5 separate regions of the Homo sapiens genome follow, and all the other regions are linked to region 1. The links are contacts of gene promoters, found by promoter capture Hi-C in blood cells and fetal thymus (Javierre and others, 2016). All regions are on one chromosome and are shown on one strand. The core of a region is centred on a gene start or on the middle of the fragment in contact, and the rest is flanking DNA. Distances in the headings are between cores, read along the strand shown. Region 1 holds the start of NEK10 (NIMA related kinase 10). Region 2 overlaps CMC1 (C-X9-C motif containing 1). Region 3 has its middle 20 kb from the start of CMC1. Region 4 has its middle 51 kb from the start of LINC01967. Region 5 overlaps CMC1 (C-X9-C motif containing 1).

Region 1 (2,700 bases), core at 127-2,626:
CTCAAGTGGTCCTCCTGCCTCGGCCTCCCAAAGTGCTAGGATTACAGGTGTGAGCCACCAAGCCAGGCCGACTGCTTAACATTTAGAATGTATGTACAGAATACTTTTTCTACTCAGCATCGGTCTTCCTGCCCCGTCACCTTGTTTTGTTTTATTGGTAACATTAATCCTGATTGTTTTAGATCTCTGAAGTTTAATTAGTTCTGCTATACTCACCAGAGTTTGGCTTTCATCTCGCCTTTCTGCATTTCCAAAATAGGACCGTCTTCATTTTAAAAAATGCTTTCAATTACCCAAGCTTAAGTATTGTTAATCCAATGGGCCTACTTACTATCCACACCAGAAAAACGTTAGGGTTCACTGTATTCATTTAAAATCCAGTTTGGGAAGATGTAACCACCAGACACACACACGAGCGTTTAGTGATACCAAGATGAGGTTGAACAGGGCCCAGTACTCGAAGAAATCGTCGAAGGAGCATCATCGTGGTTAAGACCAGACTCGAAGTAGGTTTTACCCTGACTCCATCACTAGCTCTGCCATACTGGACTACTTAGGAAACTTCTTGTGCCTCCATTTTATAACTAAGTGAAATAAGGAAAGAATTTGAAATCGTGCCCGGCACAAAATTAAGCACTTAATAGATTGGCATTTTTCATTTATTTAAAGTTACAGAATGTCAGGTATATTTTTAAAGCGTTATCTAATGCAGTTCAGAAATTTTAAAGAAGCTCCAGACTTTCACAAAAGGTGAAGTGACTTGCCCAAAGCCACAAAACGAACTGGCGATAGTTATACTATACAGGTTTCTTGAATCCCAGGTCACTCTTTTTGTGAAAAATACGGTGCTGTGGCACCTTATTCTCATTGCCTGTGGCTTGAGTAACTGAAGACGTTTTCATGCCATATGAAAGGTATTTAGCATGCTGCATTGATTCCTTATCAGATTAAATCTTTGCTTTTAAAGAGAATTGATTTTTAGCCCATAGCAATTCTTGAAAGTAAACACTCCAAGATGAAGCTGCCCTTTCCCATCAAAGGTTAGACACCCTAAATCCAGAAAAATCTTCAACGTGTAGGAGACCTGTTCACAGGTAGCTCTAGGTTCCGGTGAAGTGGCTGCAGCACAGCCTTCAGCATCACTTGCTGCCTCTTCTGCTTGCAAGCTTGGTGGTGGATCTAGCGCGTCTCTGGTTGCTACGGCGATTCCCCGGCAGGCGTCATCCGTCGCTATGGCGTTCTGCACTGCGCAGCATGGCTGCTCCCGATTGGCTGAGGCGCCCCAGGTGGCGGAGGAAGAATTGTCGGCATTGGCCTGGCCAGCGCTGGTTGGTGGCCTGGAGGAGGATTTGATTGGAAAACCAACGGTGCAGCTGGCCGCGGTGTCCCTGAGGTTGAGGGGACCGGGAATAGGCTGGGGGGAGGACGGGACGGGCTGAGACTGGACGGGACCCCCGGTCTGCAGCAGCAGGTGACAGCAGCAGGGACAATGATAAGGAGATTGGCCTGAAGGAGGGACCGTCCCTCCCGCGCGGTGAGTAGGCGGGAGCCGGTGCTCGGCTGTGCCGGCGAGCAGCTTGAGTCAGGGTCTCCGGGGAGACGTCCTCAGGTCCCTGTGGAGCGGCCCCGAAGCCTCGGGAGCCAGCTTCACTAGACAAGAGGCAGAGGTAGAGAATGCGGCTGTGGTGGGTAAGTGAGTCACTGCGTGAGGCAGTCTTTTCAAAGCAGGTGGGTTTGTGTTGGACGGATGGATGGTGGGAAAGCGCCATCAACGATGCTTCTTGGCGCTTCCATTTTGATAACGGAATTATTCTGGTTAAATGGAGCCTGAATGTGTCTCTTCCAATCTGCTCCGACGCCTCTGGAGGTTCATTCTTCATCTCTATGAGCGTCGCTTTTCTGCCTTCTCCTTACAGGATGCTGCTTTGACTTTGCCCCTCTGCTTTTCTGCCCTACTTCGGTGAGCCCTTCCACTTCCTCGCCTCAGGCACCATCTATCTGACGATGATTAGAAAGTCTCCAACTGGAACCTAGCCTGCTCTACTAACTGTCAGACCCCAAAATCCAGCTGCCAAGTTAACGCCACACATGTGCAACCCTGAACGCCATCTTCCCCATGTCTGCTGCTGCTCTTGGATTCCCTATTTTGGGCATCACTATCCATTCAGCTTTCAAAAACTACACTCTAGACGACATCCATGACACTTACTGCTGCTTCCTCTGCATCTCTATCAATTATCAAGACTATCCCTTCTTAATAGGTGTTGAATCAATTCCCACATTACCATCTCTATTTTTACTGTCTCAATTTCCACCATCGGTTGGTTAAATTCAACACCCATCTGGCTTCTCCGATTCTAGTCTGGCCCTATCTATCCAATCCACTTTTTTCCCCACCATTGTTGAACTGATATATATATATGTGTATATATATATATATGGAGTCCTTCTAAAAAAGACTCCTTTTTTAGAAGGAGTCTTGCTGTGCTGCCAGGCTGGAGTGCAGTGGAGCGATCTCAGCTCACTGCAGCCTCCGCCTTCCGGGTTCAACCAATTCTCATGCCTCAGCCTCCAGAGAGCTGGGATTACAGGCGCGAGCCACTACGCCTGGCTAATTTTTGTATTTTTAGTAGAGAAGGGGTTTCACCATGTTGGTCAGGCTGGTCTCGAACTCCTGATCTCAGGTGATCCACCCGCCTC
Region 2 (2,700 bases), core at 200-2,699, 900 kb before region 1:
GTATTACGTTATAGTTTTCATTATACTGAAATGGCATAGTTACTGGAACTTATACAAATTCACTGTAGAATTAGAATCATGTAATTCCAGATTAAAATTAAATTTTAGAAGTATAAGGGTATATAATGATGAAACATTCTAAATGTTATCTATTGCTTAAGACAAATTTTAACTGTATTTAAACATTAGGTGAAATATGCAACTCAGACTAATTCAGTGTACATTAAGTAAAAACCAATGGTGTATAGATAAAGAGGGTATCATGTAAGCTGGTTAAAAAATTAAAATGAAGACAGAACTAGTAAGAATATAGCAACCTGGCTGAAATTGATATTCATTAGGGTACTCCTCACATCAATAGGTAACATTTGGACTCTGTGGGCTTTATCAGTGTCCCAGCTGGTAATGGTTGAAGGTTAATGCCTTACCCAATTCTGTTCAATTTTCTATCCTAATTAGCCCTGCAAATCTATAGCTGTGAGCACCAAGTGTCTGTGCTCAAAAGAAACTAATTAATGCTAGCAAATTAGATCAAGTCCAAAGATCCAACAGCCAAACTCTTAGTTAAATGCTCCTTGTTAATAGGAAGTGTAGCTGTCAATAACTGCTGTTGGTGACTATAATGAGGCATCTTTCTTTCATTGAAAGTGATTTCATTTCTCTTTGTCCATGGAAAAGCTGTTCCATTCCCTTCACAAACCTAAGTTGCTGGCAGTCTGACCCAATTCTTATGATCAGCTGGGTTGAAATGACATTAAAAAAAAAATCTAACGGAAAAGCTTTCCTACATAATCATGTTTTAGGCATTTAGCAGAAAGTCAGATCACTTATTAAAATTCCTGTATCTTTTATCTAAGAACCATACAATTGGCATATATAATGCTTTTATATAAAATCCTATAATTATTTAATAAAGCAAAAGCTATAAACAGTAAATAAACTACAATGGAAATGTCCCGATTCTAAATTATGTATAACTGTTGAGTTTAAATGAAGTTTTCTTCTGCTGCTTGAATAATTCTAATGTATATGATTTCCTAATTTATATGGTTAGAAAATACTAAAGACTTCTTATTCTCTTATCAATTTTAGATTCTAAAATATTGTTTTGAATCACATGGCCTAAAAAATCAATACATAATTATCTATAAGATATTCAAATTATATTATTACATTCTAATATAGATGAATACATTTAAATAATCCAAATGAGTCACAGATTTTAAGATGCTTTCAGTCTTCAGAAACCGTAAGTATATTAAAACAGCAAAAACTTAACTACGTCAACATCCTAAACAACTTAACTTTTGATGAAGTGAAAATTAAACACTTTATTTTCTGTACCATTATAAAACACTAGTTTTGTAACACAAATAAATATTTTAAAGTTATACTCTACGCTTTCATTTCAAAAACCAAAAATAAAACTCAAAGTCATACAATCATTCTGCATTTTCCTTGGAATTATGTCAGTAAAAATTAAATCTGTAATTGAGTTAGCTAGCTTTCTTTCATTCTAGGTATAAAGACAATATGCTACATGACAGCACACATACAACTTATATGTGTAACTTTAGACTGATATATCAGTAATAAGTAAATTTTCCTAGCAGTAAAAAGCCCTACAACTTTATTATAGGGTTTTTAAGTTTTATCTCCCCTCACCTGAATCAGGATATATATTTTTTAAGTTGTATGAGGAATGTGCAGGATGTACCTCTTGTGACCATAAACATGACACCTACCAATGCCATACATGCACTACCTGCAGGTGTCAATAGGTTGACGTCTCAAGACATCTGGGGGTAGGTGTTAAAGAAAGGTACTCTGATTAAACTAACTCACAAGAATCAAGAGTAAAACCATTGGATGGTTATTTATATGAGTTTTAAAATGGAATAGGTCATAATAAGTTATTGAAGAAACAAAAATTACCATCACACATTGTTGATTCCAAAGAACTACTCTTTATTTTATTGCCTCCATTCATCAATTGCAAAGGTCCTCTCTAAGGGCAGAGGACAGGGAAGGGAACAAAAGCGTTCCTAGTATCCAAATGTTATTGACCCAGTCCTGAAATTAGAGTTGACACAGCCCTGCTCCCCTGTAGTGAAGCTTGCAGTGGAAGTGCAGCCCATCATCCTCACTAAAAATTATTGTGGTCCCTCAATAAAGATGACCACAGGGAAAGTGAAGAAGTAAAGCCAGGAAAATAGCCTATGCCCATAAAAGTTTATTACTTCTTTTTGATGGCCCTTCCAAGAGACAGAATTTTTTAAAGATATTTCTAAAGTAATATTGCCATGTGCTTTTCTAATAACTCATCATTTACAAATGTATTATGGCCTCACTATTCACCTTTCACTGCTTTCTTTACATGTTTCACTAGAATATTACATATTAATCACTGATGTCTCTAGATCTATAGGAGTATTTCATGTTAAAACATTTTCCAAAGAAAACATACACTTGTAGCTGTCTAGTGTATGTATTTACATAAATATCTTCCACTTAGAAACATAAAACAAAACAAAAACCCCAGACTCACTGTAAGTCCTATCAGGATTCTATTAACAATTCAGTAATAGACAATGACACCAAAGAAAATCACCTTAGAATATATATATGTATGCGAATATGGTGACAGATGGGAAACAGGTATATGTTAGATTTGATGTTTCTTCCTCCCCTATAAAAATC
Region 3 (2,700 bases), core at 111-2,610, 850 kb before region 1:
TGGGTAAGGAGAAAGAATACCAATACCAACGAGAGAATTCCCCTTCACCTGTGTTTTCAGCTGTCTTGTTGGTCTGATTTCAAGGAGAAAAGAGTGGAAAATAATTGATTCATTTTCTAAAGATTTTACAGCTTCAGTGAAAGGAACATATAACAAAGGTAAGTTTCTGTTTTACATTTTGATTCAGATTGTGGAGAAACAATTTCATTATTTTTCCTAAGAAATTACTGAATACTGTAAACACACTAACTTTTTACTTGACCAAGGTTCCTGCTGTCAGTCATCAACATCTTTAGTCATCTATACATTCCTCCTATTTATTACAATAAGAATAACAAAATAAATATGTTGTAGCTTATACTATAAATAATACATTGACCAGCCATCATTAATACATGGCGATACCCTCTCTTCTGTTTGCTACTAATTTTTGCAAAATACATTTATCCAATGTCCTGAACCTAAAATCTGCCTCCATTTATTATGATTAATTCTACTGTCTCAAATGTGCATTTGCTGCTCTAGTTCTGTATTTTTCACCATGAAATTACGTTACTGTACTATCTAAATATAATAATTCTCAAGAGCCTATCTTCATGTCAACCTGCTATGCTTTTTAAAGCATCAGGAAATGACCTGGAAAACTAAACCACAGCACAAATGCTAAGATATTTTCTTAAACAGATGACAGAAAATACCCTAATGTGAAATGTGGGAATATATATAGATATATATACACACACACACATAGAGAGAGAGAGTACAAGCATGTGCCTGACTTTGACTAATTTTAGAATCATGAATAAGACATCTTCAAATGAAAGAGTAAAACTAATTGTCATATGAGTTTAGCTGAAGCTTTTTTAGTATACTTCTCAGATATTGGCCAAGTAAAGAACTCTAATGACTGGTAAAACTCACAAGTTACAGGATGTCCAATGGTTTGCTTTTCATAAGATTAAAGGAGGACCTAATTAAGTTGCTAACTCATAAATCATTGTAAAGTAATTTTAAATAACTTATCATGTGATTTTTGGTATGTTACTTGGAAAACATTTAAATAAATAGCTGTCATTGCTATAATAAAATTCTTTCTTGGCCCATATAGGTATTTATGGGATCAATGCTTCTCAAAAATTATATGTATAAGGTCAAACATAGGCATAGAATTTATTCTGAATCCTAATTCTAGAAATAAGTAATGTTTATCCATAGGCACATAAACTAATTTAAAAAAGATATTTATCTCATTAAGAGGTGGTTTTCATGTAATATTTTACTTATATTTAGTAAGCATTTTTCTAAATATATATTTGTTGTTTTCATTAATTATATTGAATGATATGAATAATAGTAAATCAATCTGTAAGAAATTATTTAATACTTAGAGCCTTATGGACACAGGAAATGAAAACTTCAGCATATATATATATATATATATATATATATATATATATATATATGCTTTTGCTGCAGTAACAGAATAATCAATAAAAGACTAAAAATTATTCTGTTAAGATAAAATCTGTGGAGGAAGTATAATAGAAATATAAGTTTGAGAAAAAAACCATAAAATCACTAACTCTTAGAGAAGAACTTGTGAACTTGTTCAGGTATTTTTAAAGAGGCCAATGGCAGGCATTAAATGACTTTTGAGGACACAACTGTGTCCTCTTTTGAATGTATCCAAATAAATGTTCTTTATATTTTCTGTATCACTGTTTACATTGTATCAGATATTCTAGCCTTTGAAATTATTTAAATTTACAGTAAAATAAGTTTTACTTAAACATTACATATAATTAAACATTACATATAATTTTGAAAATTTCTATTGGGGGGTTTGTAGGCAAAAAAGCTTAAAGACCACCGTTTAAAAAATCTTTTATTTTAATTTTTTTCATTTTAAATTTTTTTTTCTTTTTTTATTATACTTTAAGTTTTAGGGTACATGTGCACAACGTGCAGGTTAGTTACATATGTATACATGTGCCATGTTGGTGTGCTGCACCCATTAACTCGTCATTTAACATTAGGTATATCTCCTAATGCTATCCCTCCCCCTCCCCCCACCCCACAACAGGCCCCGGTGTGTGATGTTCCCCTTCCTGTGTCCATATGTTCTCATTGTTCAATTCCCACCTATGAGTGAGAACATGCGGTGTTTGGTTTTTTGTCCTTGCGATAGTTTGCTGAGAATGACGGTTTCCAGCTTCATCCACTTCCCTACAAAGGACATGAACTCATCATTTTTTATGGCTGCATAGTATTCCATGGTGTATATGTGCCACATTTTCCAGTCTATCATTGTTGGACATTTGGCTTGGTTAGGAGAATGAACAGAAAGGGGCAAGATGTAAGCAACAAGACATGCTAGTAGGATGTTGTGATATATGAAGCAAGACAGGTATTGCCCAGACTGGGGCAGGCCAGTGAGGATGAATGGAAGGGGACAAATCCAAGAAATGTTTGGGAGGTAGAATTAATAGAACATGGTGAGAGATTAGGTGTGTGGGTGCATGAGCGGGAAGTGTAAAGGGCGACACCTAGGTATCCACCCAGGTGGCTGAATGAATAGCTCTTCAGTCACCAAGAGCAGAAAGCCTAGTGTAGGTGTAGGCTTGGGAGCAGAGAGTGGTGCCCTAAGTATGCGTGCATGCATGTGTACATGTGTATGTGATATGGTTTGGATCTGTCCCC
Region 4 (2,700 bases), core at 173-2,672, 610 kb before region 1:
CAAGACTGTGTAATATTGGCAGAGGGATGGACACATAGATCAATCGGACAGAGCAGAAAAGCCAGAAAGAGAATAGAACCCACACAAATAGGCCAAAATTATTTTTTTCCCCAAAAGCACAAGACCAATTTAATGGGGAAGATTAGCTTTTTCAGCAAGTGATGCTGGAGTAGTTGGACATCTATAGACAAAAAAAATGAACCTTTACTTAAACCTCACACCTCATAAAAATTAACTCAAGATACATAATGGACTTACATATGAAACTGTAAAACTTTTAGGACTAAAACAGAAGAAAATCTTTGGAATCTAGGACTAGGCAGAGTTCTTAGGCAGAGTTCTTAGACTTAATACCAAAAGCATACTCCAAGAAGGGAAGAAATAAATTGGACCTCATAAAAATTAAAAACTTTTGCTCAGCAAAAGACTCTATTAAGAGAATGAAAAGAAAAGCTACAGTTTGGGAGAATATATTTGCCAGCCATATATCTGACAAAGGCTAGTATCTCTAACACAAATTGCTCTCAAAATTCAGCAGCAAAAATGAAAACAATTCAACTAGTACATGGGAAAAAGACATGAAGACACATTTCACCAAAGAAGATATACAGGTGGCAAATAAGCATATGAAAAGAAGCTCAGCATCATTAGCGATTAGGGAAATGCAAATTAAAACCACAATGAGATATCACTACACACCTATCAGAATGGCTAAAATAAAAAATAGTGACAATGCCAAATGGTGGTAGGATGTGGAGAAAGAAACTGAATGACTCATGTACTGCTGGAGGGGATGTAAAATTGTTCAGCCACTCCAGAAAATAGTTTGGTGGTTTTGTTAAAAAAAAAAAAAAAAAAAGAAAAGAAAAAAAAAACCATTGAACATGTAACTACCATACAACCCAGCAACTGCACACGTAGACAATTTTCCAGATAAATGAACACTGGTGTTCACATAAAAACCTGTACACGAATATAGCAGCTTTATTTATGGTAGCCCCAAATTAGAAACAATACAGGTGTCCTTCCGTGGTAGAATGGTTGAAGAAACTGTAATATGTGCATACTTATAGAGTACTAGTCAGCAGTAAATAAGAATGAACTATCAATTCACGCAACCATCTAGATGAAAATCTAGAGAATTGTGCAGAGTGGGGGAAAGAAGCCAATCTCAAAAAGTTACATTTCCATTTATAAATGATAAAATTATAGAAATGGAGAACAGGTTAGTGGTTGCTAGGGGTTAAGCGAGAAATGGGGCTCTTAGGAAAGTGGGTATGACTATAAAAGGATAATTTAAAAGACTCTTGTGGTGATGGAATTATTCTGTATCTTGACTGCATCAATGTCAACATCCTAGTTGTGATATTGTTCCATAGCTTTGCAAGTTGTTACCACTGGGGAAAACTTAGAAAAGGCTCCACAGGGTCTCATTGTACGATGTCTTATAATTGCATATGAATCTACAATTAACTCAACAATTTTTTAAAAAGCTAAAATGATTTTTTGTAACTCAGAATTCATAATACTTCTACTTGAAAACATTTTGTTCAAGTCAGGTGAAGTCTCCAAATTGCTGGTTTTTACTTCATTGTTATCCAATATCATCAGCAAATCTCACATCTCACTGATTTCTCACTTTACAGCTCAGTTTGCTACAAATAATGCAATTCACCTAGTAGACTTACAATAGCACTCCACATTGTCTCGTCCTATCTTCCTATTTGCTATTCTCCACCATTGTTTTACTCAGGTGAGCATCACACCATGGCTAGTTACCTACCAACCTGCCAACTCTCGAGTTCCTTTTAGTTAGTGTCCTACTTTGTTTTTTAATTCTAAGTATTTTCTTGCAGCGCAATTGCTGAGGGGGAAACCACTACAGTGTAGTGAACTCCTACTATGTGTCTAAGTCCTAACCGTGAGGTGATGGTGACTATCAAATTGGTGCCAGAATAATAGAGATAAAAGAAAAAGAATTAAATGGTATTGTCCTGATGAGATACCATCTCCATCCACGAAAGTCAGGTGTATGGTCGGGCCTTTTGGAGGGTTTGGGAGAAGGACCTGGTATAACTTGTTGATGCTGGAGCAGCCAGACCCAACCAAATATTAAAAGATAGGCCTAAAGCAAGGTGTTTCATATAAATATACCCACAAACCTTCTGAGTAGATCCTAACATTATCCCCATTTTACAGCTAGATTGGGAAATTTAGGCTTATTACTGATATATTGTGCAAGATCTAGTAAGTCAGGAACCAGCATGCTGACTCATATCCACGTGATTTTGAAACGTGATTGACTTCCCCATTTGCTACAATGGGTGAGCACTGTAAAGGAACTAGAGTTTTCTCTCTGTAGTCTTAGTCACTGTGTTATGAAGAGATGGACATCATAGTAATACTTATTTCTGATGCAATTAAATGCCTCTAGTTCTTAAAAGGAAGACAAGGAAAATGCTATTCTTATAATCTTCCTCCATGAAAATATTCCTTTAAAGCCTGCATCCTCGCTTTTTGCCCCTTTCCCATAGGGACTCATCTTCTCTTACCTCCTCCAGTAATGAGCTATTTCCACAAATCTTCATGGTTGTTTGCTAATGCAGCAGTACTGTCACAATAGTTAACTTATACAGTGGGCCACCAGCAGTCTCTGCCACAACATCAAACAAAAGTCCAGTTTTTGACAAGAACCCAGTA
Region 5 (2,700 bases), core at 71-2,570, 930 kb before region 1:
TTGGATCTCACTTATTCCTTTCCAGAACACATGAAAAACTCCTACGCTTGGCAGAAATTTCCATGCCCACGCAATAGAGACTTAACCCAGGCCAGGTATCTCACACATGAGGTCACAAATGAGACCTGGGAAGCAAGTGGCAATGGTTCATCACATTGTATCACTACCACAGGAAAGAATAAGGTAGACACTGTTGCTGGTTTTTTGCTAAATGACCACTTAGCAACCATATAAAATCAAATAGCATCAGATACCTCAACTCTCCGATTCCATACTGTTTTCCAGTATTCCTATAAAATATATTTAAATATTTAAAATAAGGATTTTACACATTAGAAAGGGGCTTCTTCAAACAAAATATAATGAAGTGCTAAATTTCATGTTTCAGATATTAAGTGCTACCAGAATTTGAAAGAGAGACATTCACACAGCCTGGTGTGGACAATGAAAGCACCAAATCCCTCTATCTTTTTTAAAAGATCACATAGAAGATTCCCTAAGTCTCCCCAAACACACTTTTCTTACATATTCCCTCTTTGCTGTCCCACATAGTCTCCAATGTTAAAAGGCCAATTCATTGATAGGTATTGATAAAAGCAACTGACAAAAAACAAAACAAAACAAAACAGGCAAACTTTTGAACATGGAGCCTTCTAGGATTTCTTGCCACTAGTAGATGCTTTGCCTTCTCTCATCACTTACACAATGGAGAAACGAAAGTAGGATCCGTGTTTTTAGTGACACAAGTAATAAACGAACCTGTTGGACTTTTTCATACTTGCAAGTGGTCTACAGCCCATTCTGGCAATAAGTATGAGCCAACAGTGACCATTAAATACTACTTATCGAGGGCCCTGGACAGGACCAGCTGTCTTGTTCTAGACTTCTGGAATCAAAAAGGTTAGAGTGTGAAGGCCTTTAGAGGTCACTTAATCTATTTCACAAAGTGTTTCCTACTCCATCTTACTGTTTAAACATTTGTGGTGACAGAAAATTCCTTAACTCGCAAGGTAGCCAGTTCCATAGTGTGTGTGTGTTGATGGGGGTTGGTGTGTGTTGATGGGGGATGGGAGTACTATAGGCTGAAAAAAGGTAGTCTAATGCTGCCGTTTCATCATACACTATAGGAAATAACATTCATATTTTTTTCTCTTCTCCTGGCTCAGCGCCAGTTTAAACATTGCTGCCTCCTCAAGGTATGTGATTTCCAGACTATTAACAAATCCTTGTCACCCACTTTATAGTACGCTCATTTGTCAAATTTATTTATTTAACAACTGGCTTAAAAAACATTAGCATCTCCTATTTTTTTAAAAAAAAAAAACAGCATCCATAAGGACAGTAAATTCTCCAAATTCGATCGCAGTAGAATTTTTCATGCAATTCAGATATAGACTACATATATGTCTTTCTTAACAAAAATAAATCAGTAAGCCGAGTGCAGTGGCTCACGCCTGTAATCCCAACACTTTGGGAGGCTGAGGCAGGAGGATCGCTTGAATCCAGGAATTCAAGGCCAGCCTCAGGAATATAGTGAGGCCCCGCCCCTACAAATAATTTTAAAAATTAGTTGGGTATGGTGGCACACGCATGTAGTACTGTTTACTTGGGAGGCTGAGGTGGGAGGATCGCTTGAGCCCAGAAGGTCAAGGCTGCAGTGAGCTGTGATCATGCCACTGCACTCCAGCCTAGGTAACAGAGCATGGCCTTGTCTCCAAAATAGTAAATAAATAGGTTCCCATCTGTAAGGAATCATGAAAAGAATAACATATTATTAGCCATTCCTCATCTTGTCTTCTCTCACCTGAAGCAAAAAGTATTTTTATATGAATGTGGCTTTTGGTGATGTCATCAAATCTATCACAGTAACATCAACTGCTTAAATGTTAACACTGTATCACGAAATACTATGTAGCCACTAAAAAAAATAGCACACTGATAGGGAATGACCCCTAAGACTTAAAAGTGAAAACAGCAAGGTACAGAACGTTATCATTTCTGTGTTTGGGGGGTGTGCATGTGTACACGTCGGGGGGGTATGTCTGCAAGTACATAATGGCTATGAAAGAATATGTAAGAAAACTGATAACTGTGGTTATTTCATAGGAGGAAAACTGGCAGGGACAAGAATTGAAAAAAACACATTTGTATTGTGGTTTGGTACTCTCTACATCTTACAGAATATTATGAAAAAAAAAGGAAGGAAGGAAGGAAGGCAGGGAGAGAGGGAGGAAGGAGGGAGGGTGAGAGGGAGGGAAAGGGAGGGAAAGGGAGGGAAAGGGAGGGAAAGGGAGGGAAAGGGATGGAGGGAGGGAAAGGGATGGAGGGAGGGAGGGAGGGAGGAAGGAAGGAAGGAAGAGAGATAGAAATCATTTTGGGTGCTGGAGAGGGGAGAGTGGGGTCTATATAAGAGAAGCCTCGGCTTTGAAGAGCAGAGTGAAAAAGCCAGCTCCCTCTCTCTCATTTTTTCCTAAGCAGGCCATTCTGCCCTAAATTGCTGTTTAGTAACAACTAGGTGGGGAACCCTACTGTATCTCGTGAGAATTCCCTGTTCATCGCACTCTAGGAATGTTTCTGCAATTATGGCTTAATTTTATTAAATGCTAATTGTTCTCGAATATAAATTTGGATATTCCTTTTCACAAAATATACAGCTACATAGATTCGAATATTCCCATTATAGCAATACCAAGCAAAAAA

The links. The method cuts DNA at HindIII sites, captures the fragments that hold promoters and counts their contacts. A CHiCAGO score of 5 or more calls a contact.
Region 2: a contact is called between a fragment that was not itself captured here and the fragment with the promoter of NEK10 in region 1, in 13 of 17 cell types (M2 macrophages, total B cells, M0 macrophages and 10 more). The highest score is 13.2, in M2 macrophages.
Region 3: a contact is called between a fragment that was not itself captured here and the fragment with the promoter of NEK10 in region 1, in 1 of 17 cell types (monocytes). The highest score is 5.3, in monocytes.
Region 4: a fragment that was not itself captured here is called in contact with the fragment with the promoter of NEK10 in region 1 in 1 of 17 cell types (monocytes); the score reaches 5.1 in monocytes.
Region 5: a contact is called between a fragment that was not itself captured here and the fragment with the promoter of NEK10 in region 1, in 16 of 17 cell types (M0 macrophages, M1 macrophages, total CD4 T cells and 13 more). The highest score is 14.3, in M0 macrophages.

The regions. Positions count from the first base shown.
Region 1 is chr3:27,368,059-27,370,758 of GRCh38, reverse strand. It overlaps NEK10 (NIMA related kinase 10), which reads left to right and starts at 1,376. Exons shown (of 36, transcript NM_001394966.1): 1 at 1,376-1,534. RefSeq lists an enhancer at 1,618-2,118. The HindIII fragment of the contact is 2,054 bases long and covers 1,169-2,700 here.
Region 2 is chr3:28,263,683-28,266,382 of GRCh38, reverse strand. All of the region lies in intron 2 of CMC1 (C-X9-C motif containing 1), which reads right to left. Among named protein-coding and RNA genes, the nearest start is that of CMC1, 23 kb to the right of the region's middle. The HindIII fragment of the contact is 1,336 bases long and covers 782-2,117 here.
Region 3 is chr3:28,220,587-28,223,286 of GRCh38, reverse strand. No RefSeq gene overlaps it. Among named protein-coding and RNA genes, the nearest start is that of CMC1, 20 kb to the left of the region's middle. The HindIII fragment of the contact is 1,000 bases long and covers 861-1,860 here.
Region 4 is chr3:27,976,718-27,979,417 of GRCh38, reverse strand. No RefSeq gene overlaps it. Among named protein-coding and RNA genes, the nearest start is that of LINC01967, 51 kb to the left of the region's middle. The HindIII fragment of the contact is 3,089 bases long and covers 1-2,700 here.
Region 5 is chr3:28,300,253-28,302,952 of GRCh38, reverse strand. The region is part of intron 2 of CMC1 (C-X9-C motif containing 1); the gene reads right to left. Among named protein-coding and RNA genes, the nearest start is that of ZCWPW2, 47 kb to the left of the region's middle. The HindIII fragment of the contact is 4,399 bases long and covers 1-2,700 here.